Linked DNA regions of Homo sapiens: region 1 is linked to region 2. The links are contacts of gene promoters, found by promoter capture Hi-C in human tissues and cell types (Jung and others, 2019). All regions are on one chromosome and are shown on one strand. The core of a region is centred on a gene start or on the middle of the fragment in contact, and the rest is flanking DNA. Distances in the headings are between cores, read along the strand shown. Region 1 overlaps GHR (growth hormone receptor). Region 2 holds the start of GHR (growth hormone receptor).

The links. The method cuts DNA at HindIII sites, captures the fragments that hold promoters and counts their contacts. A contact is called where the count stands out against the background at its distance.
Region 1: a contact is called between a fragment that was not itself captured here and the fragment with the promoter of GHR in region 2, in 2 of the 25 tissues and cell types used here (dorsolateral prefrontal cortex and heart right ventricle).

What each region holds. Positions count from the first base shown.
Region 1 is chr5:42,567,190-42,574,283 of GRCh38, reverse strand. The region is part of intron 2 of GHR (growth hormone receptor); the gene reads right to left. Among named protein-coding and RNA genes, the nearest start is that of GHR, 150 kb to the right of the region's middle. The HindIII fragment of the contact is 7,778 bases long and covers 1,546-7,094 here.
Region 2 is chr5:42,418,256-42,424,688 of GRCh38, reverse strand. GHR (growth hormone receptor) reads right to left here and starts at 1,250. Exons shown (of 10, transcript NM_000163.5): 1 at 734-1,250. RefSeq lists promoters at 1-45, 210-557, 210-978, 1,176-1,276, 886-1,458 and 1 more, cis regulatory regions at 1,081-1,121, 1,459-1,967 and an enhancer at 1,105-1,254. The HindIII fragment of the contact is 10,174 bases long and covers 1-3,318 here.

The sequences.
Region 1 (7,094 bases), core at 4,185-6,684, 150 kb before region 2:
CTACTCCTAGCAAGCCCAGCTGGCCAAACGGTGCCCTGACACAGGGCAGGACTCTTCAACTGACTGTCTTTCTCCTGTTTCCCTATTCCTCTGCTCTTGTTACAACACATCCTTTCACCATTAGCTATTATTAAGGAAAGCATGGCTCTTCTTGCTCCAACCAGGGATGCAGTGGGTCAGTGGCATGTAGAGGAGAAGAAATTATATGTCCTAAATGTTAGCCAAACACAAAATGGTCCTCCCCTGAAAAATGACCTCTCATTTTTTGGGAGAGCCAAGGCTCTGGAAAATATAATGTGGCAAACATCATCAAGTCAGTGCCCACTAAGGTGAATCCGTTAATATTTACACATAGCACATGGTTATCCAGTAGTCAATATTATTTCTCTTTCCACAAATTTGGAAGGTTTTGCCAAAAAATTAAAAAATACACAAAGTATCATTTTTTCATATTCAGAAATCAAGAAATTAAAGATTTTATTAATATAAATTGACTTTTAACCTTGAGAGTTTCATGTGCTCTCATTGGAAAATTAGAAAGACTTGATATTTAAGGAATGGGGCTAAGAAAATTGACTCAGCTATCCACAGGATCCCTAGTCAGGGTCTTTTGTAATCTAAAGTTCAATGTCCAAAGGGGCAAAGAAAATTTGGATTTGGGATCTTCAGGTATCATTATGTCTGTCAATATTTGAGGAGATTTAATCAGGCAGGAGGCAGGTGGTGTAGAGATAAAGGTGGTGTCAGGGGGATGGTGCTGGGTGACCGGGTCACTTAATGCAGAATGTTGGCCAGTGACTGGTGCATGGGGTTCGGAGTTCAGTCACCTGGAAAGAGGTTGACAAGACTTAGGCAGGACATCAGGCTCCCACACATTAGTGTTTAGGGCAGAATTCTGATCTTGGTGGTATGTGGAGTAGAAAGCAGGAAAATGAAATCATTCCATCCCCCGGAAAAGCCCACAAAGCCTAGCTTCTAAAGTGGCACAGCTATTTCTAGACCCCTCCCACTATAAGGGGATACTAATTCAACTCCTGCCTTGCTCAGGACTGGAGATGAGAGCATCAGTGACAATTGCAGGAGAGAACTGAGGAAATCAAAGGTCAGGATTTAGCTGCTGATTCACTTATTCATTGAACAAATACACGAAGATCCTCATCAGAATGCTGAAGGATGGGCATCCAGCAAAATATCCTTCATGGATTTTAACGTCTAATAAGTTTTAATTCTATAACATTTTATTACACAGGGCATGGAATGGTCATTTTGTTCAGTTATTTGAAACCAATTAAACTGTATTTATTTCAAGCTCAGTCCAAACTTGCCACACTCTTGAAACACAGATGTCATTATAACTTCATTTAGAAGAGGGAAACACAACAAATGCCACCCTTCACCTGCCTCCTACCCCCACCTCTCTGCCAATCCTGTGTCCTGCTTGTTAGTGAAAGTTTCTATAAAAACATCCTGAAACATTTCCCCTGTGGTTAAGACATGATCCACCATCTTCTAATACCTGCAATCCTTCCATGGAAATGTGATGCGTACACTGTGAAGGTTGAGGCTTAAGTTAAATTGTTATATAAACAGAAACAGAGATTCCTGATAAATGTACCTGATGAAACACTGTGGCTTCATCCTGGGAACAAGGGACAAGAAAAAATGGATTTGCAGCTGAGGCTGAAGAAGTGCTCTAAGCCCCAAGGCCTCCTGGTCTGTCCAGAAGTTGCCAGACAGGGCACTAAGGAATACTCTCTTCGTAGGGTCAATTGCATCAGATTTCAAAGTGTGTTTATGTTACACATCATCACCGTCTTCATGCTGCTAACTACAGATGATGAGGAAGTTTGCTTTGGGTTTGAAGATGACACTGTTGACAGCATTATTTAACAATCCATGTGAGTATTGCCAGAAAAGTTAAAATGGAGCCACATTGCCTGCTGCTTGGAAAAGACGAAGGTGCACCCTTTTGTTGTGGCTGCTGGTGACTCTGCCTGATGACAAGCTAGGTGCACAGTACTGTGGATAAGCAGGTGGTTACAAGCCAAGTAGAGGCCCCAAAAATGTCTTTATTGATGACCCTGGCCTGCCTACAGTTCTATATCATATACAGTGTAAGGTTAAGGTTTAAAAGGAACCAACTCTCAGTAATAAACCCATTGACTTCGATGCACAGTGAGGAGAAAATCATCAATGGCAAATTCTTCATGAGATGGTTTTCCTTGGGAAAAGCTGCTGGGGTGACTGAGGAATCCTGGGCCCCTTGTTGTAGGGAATGATCTCAGGTAGAGGCTGGCTGGGCCAGTAAAGGCCAACATGGACTTCTGCACAGTTGAACTTGGGTTGGTCTCTAGCCAGAGGTGGACAACCAGGTGTGTCTATGAACAGGTACTCTTTGCCATCACCAAACACCAAATACGTTATGTCAACCTCATTCCTGTCTACCCCATAACAAGAGCCACAATTTAGGATACTGAACCAAAGTGGTGTGGAAACATTCTATTATATAACCAGGACTGGCTCTGTTCCCGTAAGAGCTGGCATCTAAGGCGGAAGACCAGAAATATACTCTATCACTGGCATGTGTGAATTTAACTAACATTCAGGGTTCTGAGTATTCTTGGGTGGTCCCACTCCTTCAATTTACTAATTAGCTGTGGCACAAATCTAATCACTCACACTGCCAGCTTCTTTGTAGGGGTAGGTCACTCATTTTCCGTGGGAGCCTAACCAACCTCCCAGACTCTGCCCAGCACATGGCTCTGCTGTTCTCAACTCATCCTGCATATATTTTATTGTATCCCATGAGTAAGTACATACTCTAGCAATGACAAAATATCTGGGGGATTGTCAAGGTTTTGGGATAGAGTCACACATGTCCAGAGACTACAATGAGGAGGGAGTTCAGACCTTTGTCCTTGCTGTAGACCCTCACTGCATAGTAGCCTGAGCCATACCACAGCCATACTGCAGAGCTGAGCAGACAGCTGCAGGACCCAGGGTAGACACAGGCATGAGGAGTTCAGAGAAATAGTACAAAAGAAGCGTAGCTTAGACACTCTGCTGTCATCCAGCCTCAGCATGTTTCCTCCCCTACAGAGTTGTTCTGTGCAAGTGCCACTTTAGTGCTAATAGGCTGAACTGTGCACCAGGACTTCACTGCATTAAACGTGAGTCATTGCTGATGATCACATTAATTAAAAATGCAGAAACTTAGAAATGGATGGAAAAGAAGGCACTGATAGTTCCCCGAGTCAAAAATCCACAGGTTAATTAGACTCTGAGTACTGGTAATTCTGTCTTCTTAACATCCCCGTGTTTGTGATCCATCTATTTTTTATCATCCCTGTCACACTTAGATTATCTCTCTCCTGACCTATTGTCATCAACTTCCTCCTCTAATTCATCCCTTTCAAATTCACTTTTATCCTATTACTAGTATTACTGACAAAGTAAAAATCTAACAGTATTATTACCTAGATTAAAACCCTTTAATAATCTAAGAGGATCACAATTAAATTATGTTTATTTCTCTGTTTTCTCTTCTAAAGACTGTGAGCTCCTTAAAAGCAGGAATATACATTCAAAATTCTTCCTTGGGCTGGGCACAGTGGCTCATACCTATAATGCCAACTACTCTGCAGGCTGAAGAAGGATTGTTTGAAGCTAGTAGAACTGTTTGGGGCCTGCACAACATAGCAAGTTCCTATCTCTAAAACAAAAAAATGAATAAATGCATGCATGCAAAATTGAATGAATAAATAAATAAATACATGAAATTCCTCCTTGAATCTGTAAAATGACTTAATAAAAGCTTCTTGAAAGACTTTTTATGTGTCATTATCTACATTGGCACCATCTAGATTAATCCAGCTTGCTGTGACCTGCTGAACTCCAACATCAAATAAATTCTGCAATATCAGGAGGACAAGGGGACAGAGGATTGCTGATGTACATGGACGCAGGCCATTGCACTAGAACACACCATAAGATTTCTTCTTGCCTCTGGATTATGGTGAAGACAGCAGCAATCAAAAGCTCTGTGGCTTTTTTCCCCACCTTCACTGTGAATGGAAAGCCTTGAAGTGTTCATTCTTGAACACATTTAACAGATGCATTCATTACTGTTTACTAACTGAAACCATGACTCTAATACTTGTGTGAAATATATCTGACATGTCTTGACATCCTCTCAGAGCTCTGTGGAACCTCAACTGTGGTGGAATAGAGTTTATTTTAAAAAATAAATTGTTGCTGTCTGATAGCAATGAGAACAGGGGTGTCTTTCCTTTCAAGTAAGTGTTTTGTCAGTGTGCATAGGTTTATGAAAAATGTTCAAAATATACAGAAAAAATTATTTTGGGGCTCTTGGTTCCCTTAGGATGTGGCATCTCATTCCTAAGTCTCTTACTTTGAATGGTACAGAATGATATAACACCTTTTGCAGAATTTGAGTGATGTCAATTATGTGCTTTGCCTGCAAGCCACACCTCACTGGTGTGCACATACATATACTATATACATATAGTGTACATATATATACATGTATATGTATATGTGTACATATAGTGTATGTATTACACACATACAAATATAAATATGTTGTATGTAAATATTATATATCAATATTACATGTAGATACTATATATGTTACATATGAATATCACACATATGCACACACACACACTATTCCATCATGCAGGTAGCGCTTTTGTCTGGCCTCCAATATTGAGGACTATTACTGGCTGGATATGGCATACACTTCCTCTTTCTTTTCTTCCTCTCCAAATGCTACCGATTTTTCAAGGGCCCAGCAAGTCTTGCCTTTTCCATAATGCCTTTGCTATCTCTGGGCCTTCTATAATTTGACTCAAACCTACTGACCTAAGTTTGCTTCCAAAGGGAATAATTACAAATATAGCACCTATGTACCACACACCCTGGCCAAATTAATCCTATGCCTTCCACGAAGTAAGTGCTCAAGAAATGCTTGTTGAATGTTAAATGCATAAAATAGAACCATCCATTGACTAGCACAGTAAGTGAATGAATTGTTGTCCATAGACATCTCATATCTACATCTGTACACTTCTGTTTATGTTGTTGCTTTATCACATAAGTTATTCCTGTAATAGCCTTCTGTTCTTCTCAGCCTTTTAAAATCTTAAACCTGACATTCTAGTCTCTAGAGAAACAATGTCAACCTCCTTCATGAAGCTGTAATTCACCACAGCTGAGGTATCCCTCACGTCATCATCACTTCTATAAAGTGTGATTCAAGCCATTTTGATAGTTAATATACAATGCCTGATATTGTAATTCTTGGTGTACATGCCTGATTTATTAACCCATGAAAAGTTCCTTGAGGGAAGAATCAATGTATTCCTCATAGCCATAGGTGCAGGCTTTGAAAATAGGAAGCTCTTAAGAATTATCAGTACACTGAATTTGTTGAATTAACTATTCTAGTCCACCTTGATCTATTCTTTTTCAGGGCATCTTGACCATTTCTCTTCATCACACAATCTAGACTTTAAAGGTATACAGGCTCTCATTAATTTCAAGACATTCCTCATGTCCCAGCTAGACTGAACTACAAGGCAGGGGCTTGCTTACTTCCACCTTAGGTTACTGAGGTCAAAGGGTATATTCAAGGGTAGACTGATTGAAATAGTAGAGATATACGACCTAATTTATAACAGGCACTCCTTGGAAGAATACTTATATCCATTAGATCTTTATGCACATTTCTCATTAGCAACATTATTCCAGCAGCAGCAATTTTGATACAATCAGTTGATAGGTCAACCATGTGAAGCCCTTTGAAAACAAGGCATTGTGGATCATTCCTGATTTTGGAATAAAAAATTCTCCTCTAGACTATGTAACTGGCTTTGAGGAGCAGATATAGAGCTTCATATTAAGGATGAGAACTTCATATTAAGGATGAGAGACAGAAAACATCTATTACAACACTTTAGCTAACACAATAACGGCACTGTTCAAATTTAGTTCTCATTAAATTTCCCACAGGGCAATTAGATTTAATAAAAAAAAATCCTTTCAGGGCCAGTATATTTCTAATTGCTCATCTGCCCAAGCAAGAAAATCCCTGCTCAAGTGCTACCCTTCCCTACGCATACAGGTCTGTCATCTTCTACCAGCTCCTGGGTGACTTTTCTCCAGGTGATGCTTCCAAGATCACTTACCCATCAATGCCACATCTTTCACTGAACAAACTGAATTCAATAGTAGTATCTTTTCTTTTTAAAAATTTAATCTATATTTTTAGTCTGCCTTATTCAATAGGAGACACAATAAAAATAAAATGATTTGGCTACAATCCAGACCTGGCAGAAAAACAAACACATGGTCCATAAATATTATCTGAGACTGACCCATGTCATGTTATGCAGTAACTTTGGCTGAACCCATGAACCCATTCATTAGATAAGTGGCCAGAACTAGAACACACACACACACACACACACACACACACACACACACACACACACAGAGCCAAGCATGCACACACACACTGGAACGTGCTTACATATGCCTTCTTACATAAACATCATGCCCCATCCTTAATCCTTAGACCATTTTAAGAAAGGATTCTGGAATATGCACATATTCCAAAGGAAAAAGAAATATTGGTTAGTTCAATAAGACAAAAAAAAAAGAGACAAAAATGTTCTTCTTTGTTAAATTACTTCTTATGCGTAAGTACTGGTAGGATATGTGATTTGTGTTTAGTATAAACTATTGCATTTGCTTATATTCTGCTCTCCCTGAACAAATAAATGAATCAAACAAAACTATTAAAAAGAAAAACAAAAAGCAAACATTAAAAGCAACTAGTGATGTTTTCTCTTCACTCAGGAACTCAAAGTTTTAGTAAAATGTCGAAGCAGCTGAAACAGATGCTCCTTGCAGACTTTCTAGTTCTAAAATGTAATTTGAGCTCTAATCTCTCAGCTGGGGATGCATTTTTAATTTTCTTTAAAGATTTCCTATGCCATACTTTTCATTTCACAAGTTTTTTAAATTCCTCAAATCTTGCCCAGTGGAGTGAAAGTCACCTTAATGAAGAA
Region 2 (6,433 bases), core at 1-2,500:
AGTTCTGTCAAAACTTTAAGCCTGGTTGATTTTACAACCACTAGTGTGTCAAAAGCTGGGGGAGGTCGGCTCGCCACAATTTCCACTTACCCCAGTTCATGCGGACTGGTGGCTGTCACTCTACTGACCCCAGTTCCATCGGTGCCAACGTGCGGCTGCGGCCCGCACAAACGCGCAAAAGACCGCGCGCTCTGCGCGCTGTGTCCACGCGCACAGCTCGACCTCCCCAGTCTCTCCAGTCGCGCTGCCGGGGATTCTTCCCCGCGCAACAGCAGCAGCCTCGGCAGTTCCTGCCGCAGCCAGGCAGATGATGGCAAACAGAAACACACTAGCAAAACTTTTATGACTTTAACAAAACTGTCTCCGGAGTAAACCCCTCCACGTACACTACTCGCGGGCCAGAGCAGACGCCAGAGTGTGATGGTTCGTCTGTCGCCCGCAACTCCCTGCCGCCCTCACCAACTTCCAGACACACACACACACACACACACACACACACACACACACACACACACACTAGATTGGGTTACAACAACCCACCAGCAGAAAACAACTTCTTCGCAAGGAGGAGGGGAGCACAGCCAAGTCATCCGGAATAAAAAATTATCCGTGTAAATATATAAGACAGATCCTCCCGTTTTCATAAACAACTAGAGTCCCAGGGTTCACCCTCAGGCCCCCTGGCACAACAGGAGGAAAATAAAGCCAGACTCCCGGAGCCCCACTCCAGTACCTCCGAGCTTCGCCTCTGATCAGAGAGCGCGGGTTCGCGTCTGCGCTGGGGCCAATGGTGCCGGGGCCTCCGGCCCGCGTGGCCCCAGCCCGGGGTCCCCGCCGCCGCCCGGGCTCAGCAGCAGCCGCCGCCGCCACCGCCACTGTAGCAGCTGCTGCTGCCGCTGCCGCCGCCGCCGCCGCTCCCTAGCCCTCCTCCTCTTCCCATGGCTGCGCCCTGCTTGGCAGCTCGCGGGCTGTCAGGCTTGGGGAGGAGAGAGGGGGCGGGGTGAAACGGGAAGGGAGGATGGGAGGGCAGGGGTGGGAAAAGGCGGCCACCGTTCACCAGGGGTCACGCCGCGCCTGGCCCGCAGTCCCCCAGATCCAGGTTGCAGAAGCGAAGGCGAAGCGGACGTTCAAGGAGGCCAGTTCGAGAACTGCTGCGGAGAGGCCGAGTGCCGCCCGGGCCAAGCATTCCGAGTTGCTGGGATGAAGTCTTCCCGGCGAGGAGCTGGAGTTGGTGCGTGTCACTCTCAACTGAGCTGCGCGGCTCCTCCTAGAGGAAAATATTGGTAGTTGCAATACACTTCCTTCCTCTCCGCCTGCCCGTTCCAAATGAAAGCAGGACCTACAAGAGCGTTAAGTGCAGTCCACAGACTCAAAGAAACACTTACAAAAAGGTTAGCTATCTCCAGGAATGAGAGGAAGATCAGCGAGATACCTTGGAAAGCGTGTTTAGCCATCCAAATATTGCCTTTCCATCAACAATCAAGTTCCAAACTCCTGCTCACTGGGGCACAGTGAAAAGATAGTTAAAACTACGAAGGACTTTATTGTGGAGGTTAGAAGACGGAGACAGAGAGAATGAGTAATTTACCAAGGACACTCAGCATGTTAGCAGAGAGGTATCTGCTAGAGGACAGGGATGCAGGGAGAGCAGACACAGGCCCCAGCCTGAAGTTCCTGAGCCAGGAAAAGGGTTTTAACTCTGCCTCACGCTGGACATAGCTCATCTGTCAAATGCGAGCCCTGCCTACTTCATTCACAAGAAGTTGTAAAAGTGTTGCAGAAAGTTAAAGTTGTGCATAAGCATGTCATTTTTGTACAGCATCAAACCCCAAGTCACTATATGCTTTTCTGAGTAGAGAGTACAAAAATCTAGCTCCAGGTTGTCTCAGATCTGAAGGAGTAGCTAGTCATGCAATCTTTCCACTATTTACTGACGGTCAATTGTAATGTCACTTACTTATAAGCTTCTAACAGCTTTGGCTTACTAAAGACTTTTTTTTTTTAACAGAGCTCCCAGACACAAACCCAAGTTTATACCCAGAAAGAAATGTTTAAACAACTTAAAGGAACCAAGTTTCTTTTCTTTAGAATAAAATATCTATAGGGCTTTGAAGTAGTACACGGGAGCCAAGACTTGAGAAGGAACAGAGGACCAAAGACTCTGGGATAGCAGATATCACATAAGATACCCCTATTTTCAAAGGAATCAGATAAGTGAAAAACTGTTCCTTAGAATGCTTTCAGAAGCTCAGCTGTGGCTCAAATACCCCAGCTGTTCCAGACAGACACCTAGAATGAACGAAAAAGGAAAGATTCTGGAAGGGGCGTGTTTTATCATGGGGTGGGATGGTTATTGATCCTGAACTGCTCTTGTTCTATGGCATCTAAAAATAAGGAGGCATTTAGTTCCCCTAAGACTCTTCCCCAAACCATTGATTTCTGGGGCTTCATACTTTGCTGGAGCAATAGTGGTGCTTGGCTGTGTCTGGAGCTTTTAAAAGGGGAGGTACCCATATAGAGAAACTTGGGAAAGTAAAAGATTAGGGCACAGTCAAGAAAAACTCCTGCTGGGTGGTCCATACCTGCCAAGCTGGCTGACAGGGTAGTCCTGGCAGGAGTAGAGACCAGACAGGCCTCAAATGCTGACTCCACGCCTGTCTGAAATGACCTTCCAAGTTGGACCTTCTTCAGAGCCTGGCACTACCAACCTCTCTGTTTATATCCTCTCTGTGCCTTCTCATCCTTTGCCCTTCTTCCCTGAGCTAGAGAATCTTGATCTAGTTTAGGAGGTGCCAGACGGAGTCATAAAAGATATTCTAAATTCTATTGTTTATGCTCTGAGATGAGCTCAGGGCCATACTTAAAAAAATAAGAATTGACTTCTTTTTTTTTTTAAATCTGGGTTCAGCAATATCCTCCATTCTGTGTGCCATGAAACTAGACTACTCTGGCTGCTGCTCTGTCTTTGATTTTTAAAAAGTCATCATGCACAGAAAACATAGGAAAAGACACCTCAGTTAATACTATAGAACTAGATATAAACCTGCAACTGACATGAAGGGCAGTCTTTATTTTTAAGCCTCGTAAGTAAAGGTCCTTCAATCTCATATATGACCAGGTATTGGTCCATAGTAGTATGTGCCTCTTTATATATTCCAAATTGTGAGGGAAAATGTAGCAGGTATTGAGTTGATTAATTTGTTATAAGTTAAGGCATGCCAGAGCACATTTACCTTCTGAAGAATGAAACTGCATTTGCTCATGGTTTCCACTCTGCTTGGAAGATCCTACTTTGTCCACCCAGAGAAATCCTTCTTAATCTTAAAGTTCCAATCAATTGTTTACTTTCTCTCTGAAGGTCTTCCTGACTATTCCCCAGGGTGGAATTAATTAATTCTCCCTGTATCAGCACCTTTATAGGCCTTTATATCTTCTTTTATTAAATATTGCAGTTTTGTTGACATGTCTGCTTTTCTCATTAATTAAGAGATTTCTGAGGGAGAAACTATATATTCTTAATATCTGTACCTGCAATGTCTAGGTTAGTGCCCAGTATTTACAGAGTTTATAAAGCGTCCAATAAATAATCAAATTGAATGAAAAGTTGTATCTCTTGGATTTATATCTCTAACCCAGATCTCTCCACAGAGCTCCAGGCTAACAACTGGGTATCTCCATTTGGATGTCTAACAGACCTCTGAAACTTGACATGTCCACATCTGAACTCTGGTTCTTTCTCCTTAAACATACTCCAATCACAGTGGGTGACATTTCCATCTCAGTAGATGGCAACTACTTCCTGCCAGTTACCCAGGCCACAAACCTTTGAAATCATCCTTACTTCTTCTCTGCCAATCACATTCCACATTCAAAACTCTGTCTATTTTCTTGGAGAGGTCCAGAGACACCTGGTCTGAACCACCAGAATTTCTCAGATTACTGCAGTAGTCTCTCAACTCAACTGGTCTGCTTGCTTTGACAAACCCCACCCCTAATCCCCAACCAACACCAACAACAACCCAAAGTATAAATTCAGTTGCCATAGTCATTCCTTTTAAAATTAATATCATGTCATTCCTCAGCTCAAAACCCTCCAATGGTTCCCCATTCAAATCAGAATAAAATTCAAAATGGCCCATGAGACCCTACGTGAGCTATGTACCTTTGCCCCACACCTCATCTCCCATGAATTTCCCCATCACTGGGTCATCCATTCTGCTCCCAGCACACCGGCCTCCCTGCTGTTTCTTAAGCAGGCCAGGCAGACTCCTAACTTGAAGGCTTTTTGCTGGCTTTTCTCTCTGATTTAAACACACTTCCACAAATATTCATTTGCTTCCTCCTACAGTTCCTTGAAGTCTTTACTCAGATATTGGCTAACTTATCTTGTCCAACCTATTTTACCTTATTATGGCCTTACCTTATTATGGCCCACCCTTCCCCAGTCTTTTATACATCCCCAGTAGGGCTTAGCAAAAAATATAAACTGCCTTGAAGACAATAGAAACAATTAGAAAATAATTCTGATTATATATATTCAAGTGCAGATATCTAGGTCAGATCGCCATCTCCCCAAACCATAAAACACCACAGTATAAACTTCCTAAATCTACAGTTATCTGAGGTTAGAGCATGGCTTTAGTCACTCTGTTGTACTATAAAATGCCAAAGCTTCTTCTCAAAACAAAACAAAAGAGGCCAAAACACTTAAAGTAGCATTTTATAGCTGTTTTGTTTTATAGCATTTGTAGTTGAAGAACATAGGATTGTTAGTCAGGAGCCTTGGGATCCTGTGTGGGTCCTCTGTGATTTTGGGTAAATTAGTTACTAATCTCACAATGACTCCATTTCTTGGCCTATAGAAGGAAGGGGTTGCTCTCTGAGATCATTCAGCTGTAAAATAAAGTATTAGATTGATATTTGTAAATCAAATTATGATATCAAACATTTGTGATAAATTCTAAATTTATTTGAATAATATTTGACCAAATGTCCGGGTACCATGCCCTAGCAAAGTTGACACATTGAGATGGTTAATTTTATGTGTCAATTTTGCTAGACCATGGTACCCAGATATTTGGTCAAATATTATTTTAGATTTTTTTGGCAAAGGCATTTTTATGGTAAGATTAACATTTAAATCAATAGACTTTGAGTAAATCATATTGCTCTACATAATGTAGGTGGGCCTCAATCGATCAGTTGAAGGCATTAAGAGAAAAAAACTGACCTATCCCAAAGAAGAGAAAATTCTGTCAGCAGGCAGCCTTTGGATTCAAACTGCATATCAACTATTCCCTAAATCTGTAACCAATTTACCCTGTAGATTTTTGACTTTTCAGTTTTCACAATTATGTGAGCAAATTTCTCAAAATAAGTCTCTGTATATATATCTCATGAATATGACATATATATATATATATATATCTCATGAATATGACATATATATATATATATATCTCCCTGATTAATACAATATTTACTGGTAAAATTAATAAGATTCTAATAAAATATTATCCCTTTAATGAATTTTTTTTAAACTAACACTGAATTCCCATTCACCATGTTCTTTCATTCATACAAATGTTGGTGAGCCTACACTATGACAGACTTCGTTCTAAAAACTTAGCATGCATCAGGGAACAAAATTTATACCACATATCTACAAAGATGCTGCCCTCATGGGGCTTGCATTCTAGTTAGGAGAGACAATGAACAATAAACATAATAAGTAAATCACTGAAGTGCTGATTAAAGAAAACCATAGCAGGGTAAGAGGCTCAAGAATGTCAGGTAGCAGGTACAAGAGTGCTGAGAATTCCTTCCTTGCCCAGGACTCAGCATATCATGGAATTGAGCATGTGATGCTTGTGAGCACACTGTGAGAGCTCTTTGACTAGGGTACTCTCTTTATCTTAGTCCCCTAGTTCCATCCCACAACTGCCTTGGGTGAGGATGGCAAGGGAATCATGAAGAGAAAAAAATGACTTAGGGAAGTATTTATTGCTTTCCCCCTATATTGGAAGGTAACAGGGAAAATGTTATTTCATGATCTGGGTATTCTTAGCCAAAATTTATGAGGAGGTCCCAGAGCCAGGTGAAAGCTTAAAATTGCCATTTATTGGAAAACAACCTAAGATGGCCAAATAGGAACAGCTCTCATCAGCAGCTCCCAGCGTGACTGATGCAGAAGACGGGTGATTTCTGCATTTCCAACTGAGGTACCTGGTTCATCTCATTGGGACTGGTTGGACAGTGGGTGCAGCCCAGAGAGAATAAGCTGAAGCAGGGTGGGGCGTCGCTTCACCCGGGAAGAGCAAGGGGTTGGGGAATTTCCCTTTCTTAGCCAAGGGAAGCAGTGACAGTCTGTACCTGGAGGAATGGTACACTTCTGCCCAAATACTTCACTTTTCCCTCAGTTTTCACAACCAGC